Regions from separate parts of the Homo sapiens genome. Here regions 1, 2, 3, 4, 6 and 7 are each linked to region 5. Evidence: promoter capture Hi-C in 16 types of primary human blood cells and fetal thymus (Javierre and others, 2016). All regions are on one chromosome and are shown on one strand. The core of a region is centred on a gene start or on the middle of the fragment in contact, and the rest is flanking DNA. Distances in the headings are between cores, read along the strand shown.

What was found. The method cuts DNA at HindIII sites, captures the fragments that hold promoters and counts their contacts. A CHiCAGO score of 5 or more calls a contact.
Region 1: the fragment with the promoter of ZNF285 here is called in contact with the fragment with the promoter of ZNF155 in region 5 in 11 of 17 cell types (erythroblasts, monocytes, total B cells and 8 more); the score reaches 8.6 in erythroblasts.
Region 2: a contact is called between a fragment that was not itself captured here and the fragment with the promoter of ZNF155 in region 5, in 8 of 17 cell types (naive CD8 T cells, total CD4 T cells, non-activated CD4 T cells and 5 more). The highest score is 7.3, in naive CD8 T cells.
Region 3: a contact is called between a fragment that was not itself captured here and the fragment with the promoter of ZNF155 in region 5, in 1 of 17 cell types (M1 macrophages). The highest score is 5.1, in M1 macrophages.
Region 4: a contact is called between a fragment that was not itself captured here and the fragment with the promoter of ZNF155 in region 5, in 5 of 17 cell types (total B cells, naive CD8 T cells, total CD4 T cells and 2 more). The highest score is 5.9, in total B cells.
Region 6: a fragment that was not itself captured here is called in contact with the fragment with the promoter of ZNF155 in region 5 in 5 of 17 cell types (M2 macrophages, naive CD8 T cells, total CD4 T cells and 2 more); the score reaches 6.7 in M2 macrophages.
Region 7: a contact is called between a fragment that was not itself captured here and the fragment with the promoter of ZNF155 in region 5, in 12 of 17 cell types (total B cells, monocytes, non-activated CD4 T cells and 9 more). The highest score is 11.3, in total B cells.

Annotation. Positions count from the first base shown.
Region 1 is chr19:44,400,267-44,402,966 of GRCh38, forward strand. ZNF285 (zinc finger protein 285) reads right to left here and starts at 1,342. Exons shown (of 4, transcript NM_152354.6): 1 at 1,302-1,342. RefSeq lists an enhancer at 739-1,495. The HindIII fragment of the contact is 3,728 bases long and covers 995-2,700 here.
Region 2 is chr19:44,294,379-44,297,078 of GRCh38, forward strand. The region is part of intron 4 of ZNF235 (zinc finger protein 235); the gene reads right to left. Among named protein-coding and RNA genes, the nearest start is that of ZNF235, 9.3 kb to the right of the region's middle. The HindIII fragment of the contact is 6,273 bases long and covers 1-2,700 here.
Region 3 is chr19:44,354,494-44,357,193 of GRCh38, forward strand. It overlaps ZNF112 (zinc finger protein 112), which reads right to left and starts at 2,187. Exons shown (of 4, transcript NM_013380.4): 1 at 2,133-2,187. RefSeq lists an enhancer at 1,996-2,496. The HindIII fragment of the contact is 679 bases long and covers 968-1,646 here.
Region 4 is chr19:44,273,045-44,275,744 of GRCh38, forward strand. ZNF233 (zinc finger protein 233) reads left to right here. Exons shown (of 5, transcript NM_001207005.2): 5 at 1-2,273. The coding sequence ends at 1,629. Among named protein-coding and RNA genes, the nearest start is that of ZNF233, 15 kb to the left of the region's middle. The HindIII fragment of the contact is 2,200 bases long and covers 312-2,511 here.
Region 5 is chr19:43,982,773-43,985,472 of GRCh38, forward strand. ZNF155 (zinc finger protein 155) reads left to right here and starts at 1,416. Exons shown (of 5, transcript NM_198089.3): 1 at 1,416-1,473. RefSeq lists a silencer at 1,113-1,312. The HindIII fragment of the contact is 8,717 bases long and covers 1-2,700 here.
Region 6 is chr19:44,333,212-44,335,911 of GRCh38, forward strand. All of the region lies in intron 3 of ZNF112 (zinc finger protein 112), which reads right to left. Among named protein-coding and RNA genes, the nearest start is that of ZNF112, 22 kb to the right of the region's middle. The HindIII fragment of the contact is 4,114 bases long and covers 1-2,700 here.
Region 7 is chr19:44,486,226-44,488,925 of GRCh38, forward strand. All of the region lies in intron 2 of ZNF180 (zinc finger protein 180), which reads right to left. Among named protein-coding and RNA genes, the nearest start is that of ZNF180, 13 kb to the right of the region's middle. The HindIII fragment of the contact is 7,682 bases long and covers 1-2,700 here.

The DNA.
Region 1 (2,700 bases), core at 92-2,591, 420 kb after region 5:
AATGAGACCAGATGCCCATATCAACTTCTTCAGGGAATGAAGACCTAGAGGAAAAGTGCAGCTGAATCTGGAACTGCAATTGCCCAGAAACACGATCAGAAATGTAATAAATGCTGCTATTACACCTAAAATAATTAACACTAAATCTCTAACTTTATCAAATATACAGAGAGTGTTCAAACTTCAAATTTGTTGAGTGTAATTTAACAACTTATATTTGCTAATGTGCTTTATAATACTCAAAGTCCCTACTCCCTGGCTCACAGCATGTGAGGTGAGAATGGAGTTAATAATTTGGGGCAGTTCTTTTCTTTTCTTTTTTCTTTGAGACAGAGTCTGGCTCTGTCGCCCAGGCTGGAGTGCAGTGGCGTGATCTCAGCTCACTGCAAGCTCCGCCTCCCGGGTTCACGCCATTCTCCTGCCTCAGCCTCCCGAGTAGCTGGGACTACAGGCGCCTGCCACCGTGCCCGGCTAATTTTTTGTAATTGTTTTTTGTAGTAGAGACGGGGTTTCACCGTGTTAGCCAGGATGGTCTCGATCTCCTGACCTCGTGATCCGCCCACTTTGGCCTCCCAAAGTGCTGGGATTACAGGCGTGAGGCACCGCGCCAGGCCTGGGACAGTTCTTTTCAAAATGTATTCGGTGACATTAAACTCTGGAGTTATTACAGTATTACAGTCTGAGTTGTTTCTTTATTGCCAAAAGCCAGAACCTCTGCCTTGAAGTCATAAATGCCCCAATGGAGTCAGAGCTGCCAAAATCCAGAGTTCAGACCCAAGACAACTCCCCATCCAAGAACCTAGGGGTGCTGAGCCAGAATCGCCCCCACCAAACTGAGCGAGAACAGCCGAAGCCATCCTCTATATCCAGAGACTAGCTGCTTAAGCAAATCCCTCATCCCATTCAGGGACGCACAGTCCAGCCATTACTCCAAAACCCTGAGCCAGCGCCCCTCTGCCCTCATCCAGAGATGCACATCCCAAGACTGACCCTAAGCTTCGACCCGAGGAGGCACAGCGCAAGTCGCTGTCACGAAACGTGAAGATGCACTGTTTTGTCAAACCCAGGGCTGCTCCCCAAACCGAGCCCACGCTCGAGCCCACGCTCTTCCCATCCTATCCCGGGTAGGTCGGGCCGCTGAACTTCCCTAGTCTACCCCACCTACGAGGCCTTATCATTGGTTACCAGTCCCCTCTTCCACTCCTCCTACTTCAGTCCACAGGGACGGGTCACAGCTGCACATCCTACACTCCTACTCCTGGCTACGCCTCCAAGAGGGGCGCGGTACAGACGGGACTCACCCCAGCGTCCCAAACAATGTCGCCCGCAGCGTGCGTCCAGTACCATGGCGCATGCGCAAGGAGGCCTATGGCCTACAATCCCCAGAAAGCCCCGCGCGCAGCAGTGGCCATTCGCAAGGCTACCCTGGTGAAGGTGGCCTTTGACTTCCGTGCATTTGGAAGTCCTTTGACTTCCGTGCATTCGTCTAAAATAACGACAATCATAATAACGATAAAATAATGAAATGTTAAATAAATCACTATCAACGATGAAAAGAAGTTTCAATATTTTACTACTTGGAAATGGGCACTTTACCGTTTTAGTGAAGACTTTTATAAGTTCTTATTTTATAGGCATGTCTTTTAACGTTAAAACCACGAAACTTTTCAATTAACACTCACTTAAATAATTCCCTCCCCGCCCCCCACCATGTTTTATTTCTGTTGATGAAAACTCTGGATAATCTACACTTGCGATATAACATAGCCCTGTAATTTATTTCCTAGTCTCAGAAGAAGCAGAAGGAATTAACAACTATTGTCTGAATCCTTAACAGGGGAATTGCAGGAGTACTGAGAGTGTCCTAAAAGAGACACATTACAACATAACAAGAAAACGCGGGAAGTTTTCAGATTCTTTTTGAAAATTTGCCCTTGTTGAGACTTAGGCTTTATTTTACTTCATGTTATTGCATTTAAGATTTAAGATTTCTATTAAAGAAAAATTTGGGTACCCTAAATGGGGTAAGAAAATTGAATAGGAATTCCATTAGAGGCCCACAGTTTTAGCCTGGAGGAAAGCCCTGATAACGTGTGAGAACAATCTGTCTCCTAGGAAAGGTCACCTGGTCCTGCTGGCAGAGTCTCTGTTTGGAATATCTGGCTGGCATTCCCTTTTCCACGCACCCTCAAGCTGTAGGGGTGGTGAGGCGGTTCCAGTCCTAGACTAGATAGAGAAGTGAAGACCCCCACCTCTACGCAATGGGCAGGAAATGGTTGAATAATATCCAACTATAGCTTGACATCGCAGCTTAGGGCACATAAAGGGACAGTGCAATTGTTTTGGCTTATCTCTGTCTTTTGATGTTTACATGTTTGATGTTCTTATATATTGCTCTAAGTTGAAGGATTACTTGATTTAATTTGACATACTTGAATTTTAAAAAACGAGTTCAGGAACATTTTTATTTTTGACCTAATACAAGGTTAATTTTTGTGACATCTGTGTCTGTTGGAAAACAATGTGTCTTCTCTATCAGATGGATATGCATACATTTATATTTTCCCCAGACTTGCTAACTGTGCTATTTAAATTTCCTACATGCTTATTTGTGCTTACTTAGATTTTTTCATTATGCATCTGTCAACGATTGAAAAGTGCATGTCAAAAAGGTTCCCAGTCTGGGCGTGGTGGCTCAAG
Region 2 (2,700 bases), core at 84-2,583, 310 kb after region 5:
AAATCCTAAACAGACCAGTAATGAGCAGTGAGATTGAATCAGCAATGCAAAACCTCCCAAGAACAAAAAAGCCCAGGACCAGACAAAGGTACACTGGAATTCCACAAAAGGTACAAAGAACTGGTACCAATTCTACTAAAACTCTTTCAAAAAATCTAAGAGGAGAGAATCCTCCCTAACTCATTCTAGAAAGCCACTCTTGCTCTGATACCAAAGTCAGATAAAGACACAACAAAAAAAGAAAACTACAGAGCAATATCCCTGATGAATGTAGATGCAAAAATCCTCCAAAAACAAACACAAATCCCCCCACAAAACCCCCCAAACCAAATCTAATAGCACATCAAAAAGATAAGCCACCATGATCGAGTGGGTTTTATTCCAAGGATGCGAGAATGGTTCAACATACACAAACCAATAAATGTGATTCAGCCTATAAACAGAATTAAAAACAAAAACCACATGATCATCTCAACAGATATATAAAAACCATTTGACAAAATTCAGCATCCTCTCATGATAAAAACCTTTGACAAACTAGGCACAGAAGAAACATATTTCAAAATAATAAAAGCCATATATGACAACCCATAGGTAACATACTGAATGGGGAAAAGCTGAAAGCATTCCCCCTAAGAACTGGAATAAAACAAGGATTGCCCACTTTCACCACTCCTATTTCACGTACCACTGGAAGTCCTAGCCAAAGTAATCAGGCAAGAGAAAGACAGAAAACCAATCTAAATTGGAAAAGAGTAAGTCATTTAATATCTCTGTTTTCTGACAATCTGATCTTATACCTACAAATCCCTAAAGACTCCTCCAAAAGAATCCTAGATTTGACAAATGACTTCAATAAAGTTTCAGGATTAAAAAAAATCAATATACAAAAGTCAGTAGCATTTCTATACGACAATAATGATCAGGCTAAAAACCAAATCAAGAACACAATCCAATTTATAGTATCTACAAAAAAATTAAAATACCTAGGAATGTATTTAACCAAGGAAGGGAAAGATCTAACCAAGGAAAATTATGAAACAATAATGAAAGAAGTTGTAGATGACATAAAAAAAATGGAAAAACATCCCATGTTCATGGATCGGCAGAATCAATATTGTTAAAAAGACCATACTGCCCAAAGCAATCTACAAATTCAATGCAATGGCTATCTAAATACTAATGTCATTTTTTGCAGAATGAGGAAAAACAATTCTAAAATTCATATGGAACCAAAAAAGAGCCTGAATAGACAAAGCAATCCTAAGCAAATAACAAAGCTGGAGGCATTACATTACCTGACTTCAAATTACACTACATGGCTATAGTAACCAAAACAGCATCGTACTGATATAAAAATAGATACACAGATCAATGGAATAGAAAAGAGAACCCAGAAATAAGTCACATACCTACAGCCAACTGATCTTTGATAAAGTCGAAAAAAACATACACTGGGGAAAGGACATCCTATTGAATAAATGGTGCTATTTAATCCATCTTGAGTTCATTACCTGAGATCTCCAGAGATCCATAACAGATTCTAATAATAGCCATTCTGGCTGGTATAAGATGATATCTCACCATTGTTTTAATTTGCATTTCTAGAAATCACTGGTGATTTCAACCACAGGAGGCAACCTGAAAAAGCTCCAAGTGGTCAAAGTAGAAATAACTTGGTAACAAAATAAACAATGCAATACTGGATTATAACACGAAGTATAAATAAATACATATGAGCCCATACTGATTATAAAATGGATAGTAAGTGACAATAAGGAGTTACTGTTGTAGATAGACACTGATAAATCTATGGGTGATATGACATTCTCCAGCAAAAAATAAAAGGGAAAGATAAAACAGGAACAGCAGAAAGTTGATAACTGCTAAGACAGTATGGATATACAGAGTCTATGGCATTATTTACTTTTCTATGTTTTTTAAGTTTTCAAAATAAAAAGTTTAAAGTCATAGGAAAACAAATAGGTCATCCAAATTATGTGTATGTTGGGGGAAGGGTGGAGAAGCAGAAATTATCCATTTAAACTATCAGTCAATTTTCATTAACAGAAAAAGATGTAAAATGAATGTTAAAACTGAACTGAATGGTGGGATTACAAATGGCATCCTACTAAGTCATTTTTGTCACATATCTCCCTCAGTTTGGTGGATTAGATGATATCTTAACAAAGGACATAAGCAATTTTAGAATTAATCAATTTTCTATGTTTTATACATTTTTGAAGTATATGGACCTAACAAATATATACACGTAGACTATGATTATACAGAACACTCCACCCAATAACAGCAGAATACACATTTTTCTGAAGTACATACAGAACATTTTCTAGGATACACCATATGTTAAACTACAAAAAAGCCTTAATAAATATAAAAATATTAAAATCACACAAAGTATCTCTGCTGATCAAAATGAAATGAAACTAGCAATGAATAGCAGAATAAAACCTGAAAATTCCATAAATATGTGAAAATTCAACAATACACATACAACCAATAGATCAAAGAAGAAATCACAGGGGAAACTAGAAAATATCTTGGGATAAATGAAAACGAATCCACTGCAAAAACAGTGCTAAGGGGGAAATCTATAGCTATAAATGGTTACAATGAAAAGGAAAAAGGTCTCAAATCAACATCATAACCTTATACCTTAAGGAAATGAAAAAAGTAACA
Region 3 (2,700 bases), core at 57-2,556, 370 kb after region 5:
CAATCATTGCTCTTCAACTCTTCAATACTCTGAAATAGTTGGTGGATTATATAACCTACCAATATTAAGTGAGATTAAGGAATATATCCAGGGGTTATTTCTATTCTATTTTGATACCTAATTCCAATTCCACACTGCAAATCCTTGATGCCAGCTGTCTGTTGAGTAGCTACTCTAACCATAAACCCTTAACAACCTTGTACGATGTGCTGGGCACATGGAGAAAAGTATGACATGGTCCCAGAAATAGAAGAACTTTCAGTGTATGGATTTAGATAAAGAGAAATAAGAAACAAAGAGCTATAAGACTTAGGCAAGGCAAACTCTATACTGGAACACAAAATTCATCACCATCCTTCTCCAAGGTACAATTCTCTTGCATCCCCTAGCTTCCTCAAGTAAGGACCATTCTGTAAGCTTCAACGAATGAAAACCTTAGAGTAGCTGCTGGCATTTCCCTTTCAAAGTCTTGGATATAAGCAATTTATGATCATCAACGTTTGGCAATTATGACAATCAATCAAACGATATTATACTAAGTCGATGTTAGAGATTTGCTTTAAAATACTGAAACAAAAAAAAAAGGGACAGGGAGTTGATACAAGACTGGCAAATGTTAACAAAGGTTGAAGCTGGGTGACGCTTCCACAGAATTATTTTAGTCATATTACATTTGGCTATGCTTACAAATTTCCATAGTAAAAACTTAAGGGAAAAATAAAAGCTATGAAGCCTATTTGGTTAAACATGGGTGAAAATCCAAAAAGAAGTCTACTGGAAGAGGAAAACATTGAAATATTAATATTGTTACTGTTATATCTTGTGGTTAGCATAATTTTTTTCTTTTACACTTTCTATACTTTCTTAATCTTTTACAATATGCAATAATTTATATAATCAGAATATGAACTATAAATATTTCAAATAAAATTAAATTACAGATAATTTTAAAAAATCAAAAATTCAAAGCTTATTAACCTTGCTTTCACGGTCCTCTAGTAAAATCCAAATATGTGTTCTGAAGCTGATACTAAACACATCAAGAACTAAGGCAATGGATGGAAACTATTTGAATTCAAATCCCAGCTCAGGCTCTTACCACCTGGGTGACCTAAAGATAAACCACCTATGCTCTATGTCTGTTTGCTTATCTTTAAAATGGGAATGGTGGTACCCAACCCAGGCTCAAAGGGCTCTTGTGAGGATTAAAGATGTTAATTCATATCAAACTCTTAGAATGATCAGCACTAAATGTTTAAATACTATCTTTATTACTCATGCCCAAGTACTCCCTCATCCGTTTCTGCATTTATTGAACAAATATCAGCGCATCTTCGAGCAGAATTTGCCAGTGAATGATGGAAATATCGTCTTCCCTGAAAAGAAAGGATGATAAGTACTACTCAGGTGAGACTCCGCTGCCAAGTGCCAAAGGGTCATTCCCTCCTTCTCCCTGCAGCCTTTTTCAAGAAGTCAAGGCTAAAGAAGGAAAGGAGGATGGGGGAAATCAGAACTCCTGCATGAATTACAATGGACTACCCAGACAGCCAGGAGTGATCCTGTCCTAAAGAAAAATCTCTCAGTGATCAGAAAAGGGCCAGGGATACTCTGCAGCTGGAGCTCTGACCCCATCCTGGGTTCACAGAAGCTTTCAGGGAACTGAGTCCTTCTCAGAAAATTAAAAAGTGCTAATAACAAGAGACCCATCTTCTACCACCTGTCAGGCTCTGTTCCAAGTCTTTTTATTTAACTCTCAAAAGAACTCCATTAGATAGATACTAGTACCATTTTAAAGAAAAAGAAACATAGGCAGAGAGATTAAGATACTCGCCTGTTATTATACTGCTAGGAAGTGGCAGAGCTGGTTGATGGTCAGGGGAAAGGGCTGGGGAAGTACAGAACCCAGGAGATCCCCAGTCCCTGCGATGTAGGATCTTGGACCCCCGGCGCTAAGTGGGGATGCGCCAGCTGCCCCACACTGGAGAAGGCTCATTCAAAGATAACACAAATCCCGCCCTTCGCCGCAAGTGGATTATCCTCCCCTAGAGCTACTGCCCGGTTGCTACTGGACCCCAACAAAACGAACATCAGTATGGACGGAAGGAGCAGGAAGCAGGGCGGGGAGCGCTCACCTTTCTGGGAGGAACGAAGGCCGCGGCCTAGCGTACCTGGGGCGGAAGTGGCTCTGCCTACCGAGACCTCCTGGACTACGCTTCCCAGAATTCCCGACGGGATCAGGGAGACGGCCTCAGCCTCCTAGAGCGGAAGTTACCCGACTACACGGGGCTCCCAAACTACATTTCCCAGAATTCCTAGAAAAACTCTCCACTTATCTGCCTGCCTAGGACGCAAGTACCGGGTGCCAAGCTGAGAGCCTGGATGATATTTCACATGTGCCGGTCCCAAAGGAATTCCTTAACTCCCCCTTCCTGGAACCGAAATGCTTCCAAAGACAGAGAGCTCGTATATATATTTCTCTGTTTTACCCAGCGGACCGTGCATGAAAGGCGCCTTTCCTGGCGCGTGTGTCTCTGACCCTGTGGATCTTCTGGACAATTCCCGGAATTTCTTGCAGGGTAGCACTTTCCCTTAAGTCGTCTCTTTCTCGTTTGGATAGTCAGTATTTGTATAGTCACTATTCTCTTTTGGTTAGCCATCCAATTTTATACTGCTAGTCCAGTTCTACTGCCTTCCCCCTAG
Region 4 (2,700 bases), core at 162-2,661, 290 kb after region 5:
AAGAGGTCCAAGTTGCTAAAACAAGGTGATTCCCCCTGTCAGGTGTGGACAGGAGAATCTAGTCAGGTCTCTGAAGATGAGAACTATGTAATAAAGCTACAAGGGGAGAGTTCAAATAGCATAAAAAATCAAGAGCTTCCATTGAGGACCACCTGGGATTTCTGGAGGAAAATGTATCTGAGAGAACCACAGAATTATCAGAGTAGGTGTCAGCAAATTGATGTAAAAAATAAGCTCTGTAAATGTGATCATTGTGTTAGGCAAAGAATTGCTCATCAACATGATGATCATGGAGTACACAAAAGAGAGAAAGCTTTTAGCCACAATAATTGTGGAAAAGACTGTGTGAAGGAATCATCCCAGCATAGCATAATCCAATCAGGAGAGCAAACCTCTGATGAAAATGGAAAAGGCTTAAGTGTTGGCTCTAATCTTGAACTTCACCAGCAACTACACTTAAGAGACAAGCCTCATGTAAATGTTGAGTACGGGAAGGGCATAGGTTACAGCTCAGGGCTTCCCAGGCATCAGTGTTTCCACATAGGAGAGAAATGCTATAGGAATGGTGACAGTGGTGAGGGCTTCAGTCAGGGCTCACATCTGCAACCTCATCAGAGAGTCAGCACAGGAGAGAACCTCTACAGATGTCAGGTATATGCCCGGAGCTCCAACCAGAACTCCTGTCTTCCCTCTCATGAGCTTACTCACCCAGGAGAGAAGTTGTGTACATGTGGCAGGTGTGGGAAGGGCTTCCATCATAGCTTAGATTTTGACATTCACTGTGTAGACAGTGCTGGAGAGAGAGCCTGTAAATGTGATGTATATGATAAAGGCTTCAGTCAGACATCACAACTTCAAGCCCATCAGAGAGGTCACTCTAGAGACAAGACATACAAATGGGAAGTAAGTGACAGGATATTTAATAGGAATTCTGGTCTTCACCAGAGAGTTCACACTGGAGAGAAACCATATAAATGTGAGGTATGTGATAAGGGCTTCAGTAAGGCCTCAAATCTTCAAGCCCATCAGAGAATCCACACTGGAGAGAAACCCTACAAATGTGATGTGTGTGATAAGAACTTCAGCCGTAATTCCCACCTTCAGGCCCATCAGAGAGTCCATACAGGAGAGAAACCCTACAAATGTGACACATGTGGGAAGGACTTCAGTCAGATCTCTCATCTTCAGGCCCATCAGAGAGTTCACAAAGGAGAGAAGCCATACAAATGTGAGACATGTGGGAAGGGCTTTAGTCAGAGTTCGCATCTCCAAGACCATCAGCAAGTCCATACTGGAGAGAATCCCTACAAATGTGATGTGTGTGGGAAAGGCTTCAGTTGGAGTTCACATCTTCAAGCCCATCAGAGAGTCCACACAGGAGAGAAACCATACAAATGTGAAGAATGTAGGAAAGGCTTCATCTGGAACTCATATCTTCATGTTCATCAGAGGATCCACACGGGAGAGAAACCCTATAAATGTGGCATGTGTGGTAAGAGCTTCAGTCAGACTTCACATCTTCAAGCCCATCAGAGAGTCCATACTGGAGAGAAACCATACAAATGTTTTGTGTGTGGTAAGGGCTTTAGTAAGAGTTCGTTGTCTTCAGATTCATCAGAGAGTCCATGATGGTGATGAATCTATTAATCATGATGAGTGTGATAGGGGTGCTCTTCAAGACTTAGACTTCCCATTTTCCTCAGAAAATCCACACAGCACAGAATATTTATAAAATGTCATGTTTTAAGAATTCATGAGCTGAGTTTTTATAGTTATCTGAATTCCATTGAAGAAAACCTATTTTTGTATGAATATGACCAGTTTCAAGCAGAGCCCAAAATGTCACAGTTGTCAAGAGAACACACAACAGAGAAACCCTATAAAGAATGATACAATATGTTTCAATCAGAACCTTCACATCCAATAAGCAATATGCAGGAGTGAAGCCTTCAAAATGATAAGTAAGGTCAGAATTTAGCAAAAGTATAATGAGGGACATGACAAAATCTGTGTCCACTAGAATCTAAGCTCCATGCAGGAACATTGTTTACTGCTGCATGATCGTGACCTTGAACAAGTACCTAAGAAATAGTGGCTTCCCTGGAATTGTTTAACTTGATAGGAAAAATCTATCATATATAGGACATATATTTGAATATTTTAGTGAGCTCAGCCCCAATTCGTCATTATAATTGTACTGGGAAAAGGATTCTTGCAAGAAGCCTTAAAATGAATTCAAGGAAATGACATTTAATTAAAACACATAAAACCAAGCAGTCTACAATCTGAGTAATGTTTTTGCAATTGGCTTCTGTCCTCAGTTCAGCTTCATTTTCCAAGCAGTATAATAGGCCAAAGTTTCTATCTGATTATTTAAGACTTTTTCCATACAGTGTACAGCTGTGCTATGTTTCTTTGGCGGGGGCTTTTGCTATCTTTCTTTTTGGGAGCTAGTGTGATAGAAACAGACTGAATGAAGAAAAAAATCCCAACTGGTTTTTAGTTCCATAAAGCTTCATGAGAAAGGTTTTGCAAAAAAGGGGAATATCATATGGCATGCATTTTAGATGTTAAACTAAGCTGTTAAGGACACAGCATTTTGGACAACACCCCATACTTCTCAGACATCATTACACGTTATGCAGTGTGTAATGATCAAATCATAGTAATTGGATGAAGGGTTTACTCAGGTGTATATTT
Region 5 (2,700 bases), core at 166-2,665:
AATAAAATAAAAGCCAGGCAGGCTATGATATTTTGTGACTAAAAAATATTGGTACTGAGAGGTGGGCTTGCTGCTGCAACAAATACCTAAAAATGTAGCAGTCTTTGGAACTATGTAATGGATAGAGTCTAGAAGAGTTTTTACATGTATGCTAGGAAAAGCCTACATTGCCATGAATGGACTGATAAGGACAATTCTGGTTAGCGCTCAGAAATAGAGAATAAGAACTGTAGAGAAAACATCAATCTTGTTAGAGCATACCTAGGTAGTCATGATCAGAATGTTGGTAGAAATATGGACAGTAAAGGCCATTCTGAAGACCTCAGTCAGAAATGTTGAACATGTTATTGGAAGAGAAGAGAGCTTCTTGTTATAAAGGGACAAAGAATTTGGCTGAATTATATTCAGGTGCTAGTGTTTTATGGAAGGTAGAATTTGTGAATGATATAATTGTTTATCTGAATTAATTTCTAATCAAAGTGTTGAAGTTGCTTGAATCATCTTGACTACCCGTAGTGAAAGGCACGAAGTGAGGAATGACTGAAATAATTATTAATTAAAAGGGAAACAGAACTAAAATTTTTAAAAGTTTACAGCCTATCTACTTTGGAAAAAAAAAAAAACAGGAAACCTGAAGAATACAAGGGTATGGTTAAGCAACTAACTAATTCATGAATTTAGTATGGATTGGCCATGTCAACTGAAGCCAGGACCTATTGTCCAAGACAATGGAAGAATGACCCCAAAGGCATTTCACAGATTATGGCAGCTTCTCCTCCCATCACAGGCCCAGAGTGCAAGGACCTGGGGGACAGAAAGGGCCTTTGATGCCAGATATACCCTAATATATTAGGCACAGTTTCCTGCCTACTACGATTGAGCGTGTCAATAAATTTTTATCTCTTGGGAGGGCAGAACAGAGCAAGGATACAGCTGTAACTGGTTTAGAAATAGCAGTCACTCAATTTTCAGAGAAGTGTTCCTCATACTGTGGTTGGCACAGTCACTTTATCTAAAGAAAACCATGAAAAGTATTCTTTTTTAGTTTAGAAAAATTGATATAGAACATGAGACTCCATTTTTTTAAAATAAAAATATAGGTTGATAGGCCAGAATTCACAGGTCCACCTGCCTGAGCCAAAATTCTCACGCCTCCACAGAGCAAATGGACTCCATTTCCCAAGATACCAGCGAAACGCCTGCGGGAGTCTAATTGCCCGGTCGATGCGCAGGAAATTTGGCTCCCGCAGGCGTTTCGCGAGTAGCTTGGGAGGCGTGGGAATTTTGGCCCAGGCAGGAGGACCTGTGAATTCTGGGAAGTGGAGTCCATTTGCTCTGTGGAGTCGTGGGAACTTTGGCTCAGGCAGGCGGATTCGGGGGATTCTGGGAAGTGTAGTCCAGACGCCTGTGGCATCATCGACACTTCCGGTCTCCGAGCAGGACACTGCTACTTAACAAGGTGGTTTGAGCCAAGTATGTGTCTTGCGGGTCTTTGCGAAAGTGAACCAGTTATTAGGGGCGCCTAACGACCTGGGGGGTCAACTAAGGGGGTAAGAAGCCCTGGAGAAGACCTGAGGTTTGGAGATGCGAGGGGTGGGAGGGAAGTTTCGTTGCCGTCGATGGAGCCTTCTGGCGTTGGGGGCTGTACTCAGGTCCACCGGAGGAGTCGTCGGGGGTTCGGGGGGGGCGGGGAAGAACTCTGTCTAGTCTTGTGTGCCTGTTTAGAGGGTTTTCCAGGTGTTTGACCTCGTTCAGTCCGCCTCCCTCCACTCTTAAGTGTGCGACCTCTTTCTCGCGATATAACGTGGGGTGTTACTTAATCTCCCTGTACCTCCCATTGCCGTTTTTTAAATGAGGATTTCAGGACCATCCTGATAGAATTGTTTTAGGAGTTGAAAGTTGTGGTATAAAACAAAGACTTAACAGCTCCTGTCACTTGGTGTCCTGTTAATTTCCCGCGAAGTGGTCAGGTGCCCGGGTGGGGTCAGAGCTCCAGCTGCTCCGGCCCTTCTCTTGGAGCCCGGCAGGGCTCTGGATGATCCCGGACGCCTCTGACCTCTTTTTAGGAAGGCGTGGGTTGCATCCACGTTTCACGAAGGGAGAGGAGCATTTAACTTGTATCCGGGACGGCGACGCAGAGTGTTTGACAGCTTTCTCCTTCCCCAGCCTGACTTTTCTAAAAGAGCTGCAGGGAGGGACTTGGCTACTGAGGACAAAGCTGTCTACACGAGTGGTCTTTGGCTTTTCTCTTTTTAAAAAAAAGTTATTTATTTTGTTAGTCTGTTTTTATTATTGTTATTATTTGAGAATGAGGTTTGCTCTGTCTCCCAGGCTGGAGTGCAGCAGTGGCGCGATCTTGGCTCACTGCAACCTCCGCCTCCTGGGTTCAAGCGATTCTCTGTCCTCAGCTCCGGAGTAGCTGGGATTACAGGCATGCGTCACCATGCCCGGCTAATTTTTGTATTTTTAGTAGAGACGGGGTTTCACCATGTTGGCCAGGCTGGTCTCGAACCTGTGGTCCTAAGTGATCCGCCTGCCTCGGCCTCCCAAAGTGCTGGAATTACAGGTGTGAGCCACCGCGCCGGGCCGGTTTTTTCTTTTACAGAGATGTTCACCTCAACCAAGAGTGTATAGGATGTGTCCTTGGGCATGGGTGTTGATAATAATTAAACCTTAATTGGTAACTTAATTCTAAGGGCT
Region 6 (2,700 bases), core at 21-2,520, 350 kb after region 5:
TTGAATTTAATAGTTAGCTATAATGAACTCAGAGAAAAAAAATCTTTGTTTATGTCTTCTTCTTCTTCTTCTTTAATAAAAGCTAAGCGAGAACATCAGCTCAGGTTACCCAGGCTGAGATCACCTTCCGTTCTTACTTCGCTTTTAGATAGAGACAATACAAGGTATAGTGGTGACAATGTTTTGATCACAAATATTTAAGCTGCTGTGCTGACTCCTTTCTTAACCACTGATATGGTTTCGCTCTGCGTCCCCACCCAAATCTCATGTTGAATTGTAATTCCCAGTGTTGGAGTTGAGGCCTGGTGGGAGGTGATTGGATCATGGGGGTGCTTTCTAATGGTTTAGCACCATCCCCCAAGTGCTGTCTCGTGACAGAGTTCTCAAGAGATCTGGTTGTTTGAAAGCATGTAGCACTTCCTGCCCTCTTTCTCTTCCTCTTTCTCTGCCATGTAAAACATGCCTCCTTCCCCTTCACCATCTGCCATATTTATAAGTTTCCTGAGGCCTCCCCAGCCATGCTTCCTGTATAGCCTATGGAACCATGAGTCAATTAAACCTCTTTTCTTTATAAATTACCTGGTCTCAGGTAGTTCTTTACAGCAATGGGAGAATGGACGAATAAAGAAAATTGGTACCAGAAAAGTGGGGCATTGCTATAAAGATACCTGAAAACGTGGAAGTCACTTTGGAAACAGGTAATGGGCAGAGGTTGTAATAATTTGGAGGGTTCAGAAGAAGACAGGAAGATGAGGGAAAGTTTGGAATCTCCTAGAGAATTGTTACATGGTTTTGAACAAAATACGGATAGTGATATGGACAGTGAAGTCCAGGCTGAGGTGGTCTCAGATGGAGATGAGGAAGTTATTGGGGACTGGAACTGGTGATATATTTAGATATATTTAGGTTTGTAAATGCATTTATACATTTTCCCAACATTGGTGCTATGCTTTAGCAAAGAGACTGGCAGCATTATGCCTCTGCTCCAAAGATCTGTGGAACTTTGAACTTGATAGGGATGATTTAGGTTATCTGGTGGAATAAATTTCTAAGCAGCAAAGCATTCAAGATGTGGTCTGGCTGCTTCTAACAGCATATGCTCATATTTATGGGCAAAGAGATTATCTGAAACTGGAACTTATATTTAAAAAAGAAGCAGAGCATAAAAATTTGAAAAATTTGCAGCCTGATCATGTGGTAGAAAAGAAAAACCAATTTTCTGGGGAGAAATTCAAGGCTGCAGAAATGTGCCTAAGTAAAGAGGAGCTGAATGTTAATAGCCAAGAAAATGGGGAAAATGCCTCCAGGGCATTTCAGAGCCAGTCATGACAGTCCCTCCTACCACAGGCCTGAAGGCCTAGGAGGGAAAAATAGTTCTGTGGCTCAGGCCCAGGGCCCTGCTGTTTTCTACAGCTGAAGGACACGGCACCCTGCATTGTAGCTGCTCCAGTTCCAGCCATGGCTAAAAGGGGCCAAGGTATAGCTCAGGCCATTGCTTCAGAGGGTGCAAACCCCAAGCCTTGGCAGCTTCCACGTACTGTTGGGCCTGTGGTGTGCAGAGGGCAAGAGCTGAGGCTTGGGAACCTCTGCCCAGATTTCAGAGGATTTATAGAAACACCTGGATGTCCAGGCAGAAGTCTGCTGCAGGGGTGGAGCCCTCATGGAGAACCTCTACTAGGTCAATGGAGAAGGGAAATGTGGGGTTGGAGCCCCCAGAGTCCCCACTGAGGCATTGCCTAGTGGAGCTGTGAGAAGAGGGCCACCGTCCTCCAGACCCCAGACCCACCAACAGCTTCCACCACGTGCCTGGAAAAGATGCAGGCACTCAACGCCAGCTCATGAAAATAGCCAAGTGGGCTATACCCTGCAGAGCCACAGAGGCAGAGATGCCCAAGGCCTTGGGAGCTCATCCCTTGCATCAGCATGCCTGGATGTGAGACATGGAGTCAAAGGAGATTATTTTCGAACTCTGAGATTTAATGACTGCCCTGCTGGGTTTCAGATTGGCATGGGGCCTGCAGCCCCTTTGTTTTGCCTGATTTCTCCCTTTCAGAATGGGGGCATTTACCCAAAGGCTGTAGCCCCATTGTATCTTGGAAGTAACTAGTTTGTTTATTAGAGTATTATGCATCCATTACAAAAACAAGAGTTATAATCTTAGACTGGGAGGGATTTCCCCAAGGTAACGGCAAAGAAGAAAAATTAGTATATTAAAAACAAGAATGTACATAACAAATTTTTACATTAATATGAGGTATATGATCATGTTAGTATAGGTAAAAAAATTAAGGTATTTTAAAAGGTGACATTATGTTCCAGCTGACAGTATCAGGAAGGTAGACTGGCACAGCATGGCCTCGGCCTGTTTCTGTACAACCCAGGAGCCAAGAACGCTTTCTACATTTTTAAAGTGGTGTAAGAAAAACAAAGACTGTGACAAAGAGCACATGTGGCCAGGAAAATCTAAAGTATTTACTACTTGGACCTTTAGAGAAAAAGTTTAACTCCTACTCTCAAGGGTACCATGTAGGACCCTGAATCTTAACCAAGATGGAAACAAACCATTATAGAAATGAGTTAATTTGTTTTGAATTTTCTGTTGACTCTTTCTTCTTATCCAGCAGCATCCTTAGCTACACAGTTGCGACGGTGGCTTTTGATGTCAGTCTTGAGGACTCAAGAAACTATCAAAATGTTTGG
Region 7 (2,700 bases), core at 24-2,523, 500 kb after region 5:
TTCTATAAAATATAAATATGCACGGAAAAATCTGGAAAGATGTTCTCAAAAGCATTAAAAGGAGTTATTCTTTGAAGGGGTAGAACTGAGGAGCAGGTTCACTGTCTCTCTTTTAATGCTGCATCCATGTTTTTCAAAACCACTTATTTTAATTAAATATTTGGAAACCAGGAAAGGTGCTTCCCTCTTTAAAAATCACCTTGAAACAACGCAATTCCTTTGTAGTGTCCTCAGGTTTTTTCCTACAGGATACAATAATTCAGTCTGTTAAATGATAGCCCATTCAAGGATACTTTGCTCCTCCTCAAATCAAACACTGAAAAGCAACTACTGCTAATTTTTGATAACTCATTTCTTTAGAAGCCATTGGATCAAAAACTAAAAGAAAATAAAAGTGGCCAGGTGCAGCAGTTCATACCTGTAATCACAGTGCTTTGGGAGGCTGAGGTGGAAGGATCACTTGAGCCCAGGAGTTCGAGCCCAGCCTCAGCAACACAGTGAGGCTCCCCTGTCTATACAAAATATATAAAATAGGCCGGGCATGGTGGCTCACACCTGTAATTCTAGCACTTTGGGAGGCCGAGGTGGGCAGATTGCCTGAACTCAGGAGTTCGAGACCAGCCTGGTCAACATGGCGAAACCCCATCTCTACTAAAAATACAAAAAAATACAAATTAGCTAGGTGTGGTATACCTGTAGTCCCAGCTACTTGGGAGGCTAAGGCATGAGAATCACCTGAACCGGAAGTTGGAGTTTGCAGCAAGCTGAGACCATGCCACTTCACTCCAGCCTGGGCAAGAGAGTGAGACTCCATCTCAAAAAATAATAAATAAATAAATAAATAAATAAGCCAGGCACGGTGGTATGTGCCTACAGTCCCAGCTACTTGGGAGGCAAAGATGGGAGGATCACTTGATGTGGAGAGGTCAAGGTATAAGTGTGTCAATTTTTTCTCCTTATCTATCTAGAAAATATTTTACTATTACAGTAGGAATGGTTATTAAAAATGGCTAGCATTAATGTATTTAAAGGTAGGAAAGGATTCTCCAAACCTAAAAACACCACTGTATATTTACTGGGTAGGTTGTGAGGTTCACAATAAGTATCAAAGAGCCAGAGCTGCTGCAATGTAAAGAAGGCCCAATGTGAAAGCCAAGAGGTTGTGTTGCTTGCATTACTACCACACATACTACAACAGTTAAACTGCCTTTTTATTTTTTGTAGAAGACAGGGTCTCGTCATGTTGCCCAGACTGGTCTCAAACTGCTGGTCTCAGCGCCATGACAGTTTTGTCAGGAAGTTACCCTCTATGGTCTAAAAAGGAGAGGAACCCTCAGTTCTGGGAATTGCCCACCCCAGTCCTGGAAAACTCATGAATAATCCACCCCTTGTTTAGCAGAAAATCAAGAAATAACCATAAAAATGGGCAACCAGAAGCCCCTGGGGCTGCTCTGCTTATGGAGTAGCCATTCCTTATTCTTTTACTTTTTTGTTTGTTTGTTTGTTTTGGTTTTGGTTTTGAGACAGAGTCTCGCGCTGTCCCCAGGCTGGAGTGCAGTGGCATGATCTCAACTCACTGCAACCTCCACCTCCGGGGTTCAAGTGACTCTCCTGCCTCAGCCTCCTAAGTAGCTGGGACTACAGGCGCACATCACCACGCCCAGCTAATTTTTGTATTTTTTGTAGAGATGGGGTTTCACCATGTTGGCCAGGATGGTCTTGACCTCTTGACCTTGTGATCTGCCCACACTGGCCTCCCAAAGTGCTGGGATTACAGGCGTGAGCCACCGTGCCCAGACTACTTTTAAAAATAAACTTGACGCCCTCGCCCTCGCCCTTGCCCTCTCCCTCTCCCTCTCCCCACGGTCTCCCTCTCCCTCTCTTTCCACGGTCTCCCTCTCCTTCTCTTTCCACGGTCTCCCTCTCCCTCTCTTTCCACGGTCTCCCTCTCCTTCTCTTTCCACGGTCTCCCTCTCCCTCTCTTTCCACGGTCTCCCTCTCCCTCTCCCTCTCTTTCCACGGTCTCCCTCTCCCTCTCTTTCCACGGTCTCCCTCTCCCTCTCTTTCCACGGTCTCCCTCTGATGCCGAGCCGAAGCTGGACTGTACTGCTGCCATCTCGGCTCACTGCAACCTCCCTGCCTGATTCTCCTGCCTCAGCCTGCCGAGTGCCCGCGATTGCAGGCGTGCGCCGCCACGCCTGACTGGTTTTCGTATTTTTTTGGTGGAGACGGGGTTTCGCTGTGTTGGCCGGGCTGGTCTCCAGCTCCTAACCTGAGTGATCCGCCAGCCTCGGCCTCCCAAGGTGCTGGGATTGCAGACGGAGTCTCGTTCACTCAGTGCTCAATGGTGCCCAGGCTGGAGTGCAGTGGCGTGATCTCGGCTCGCTACAACCTCCACCTCCCAGCTGCCTGCCTTGGCCTCCCAAAGTGCCAAGATTGCAGCCTCTGCCCAGCTGCCACCCCGTCTGGGAAGTGAGGAGCGTCTCTGCCTGGCTGCCCATTGTCTGGGATGTGAGGAGCCCCTCTGCCTGGCTGCCCAGTCTGGAAAGTGAGGAGCGTCTCTGCCCGGCGGCCATCCCATCTAGGAAGTGAGGAGCACCTCTGCCCGGCCGCAACCCCGTCTGGGAGGTGAGGAGCATCTCTGCCCGGTCGCCCCATCTGAGAAGTGAGGAGACCCTCTGCCTGGCAACCGCCCCGTCT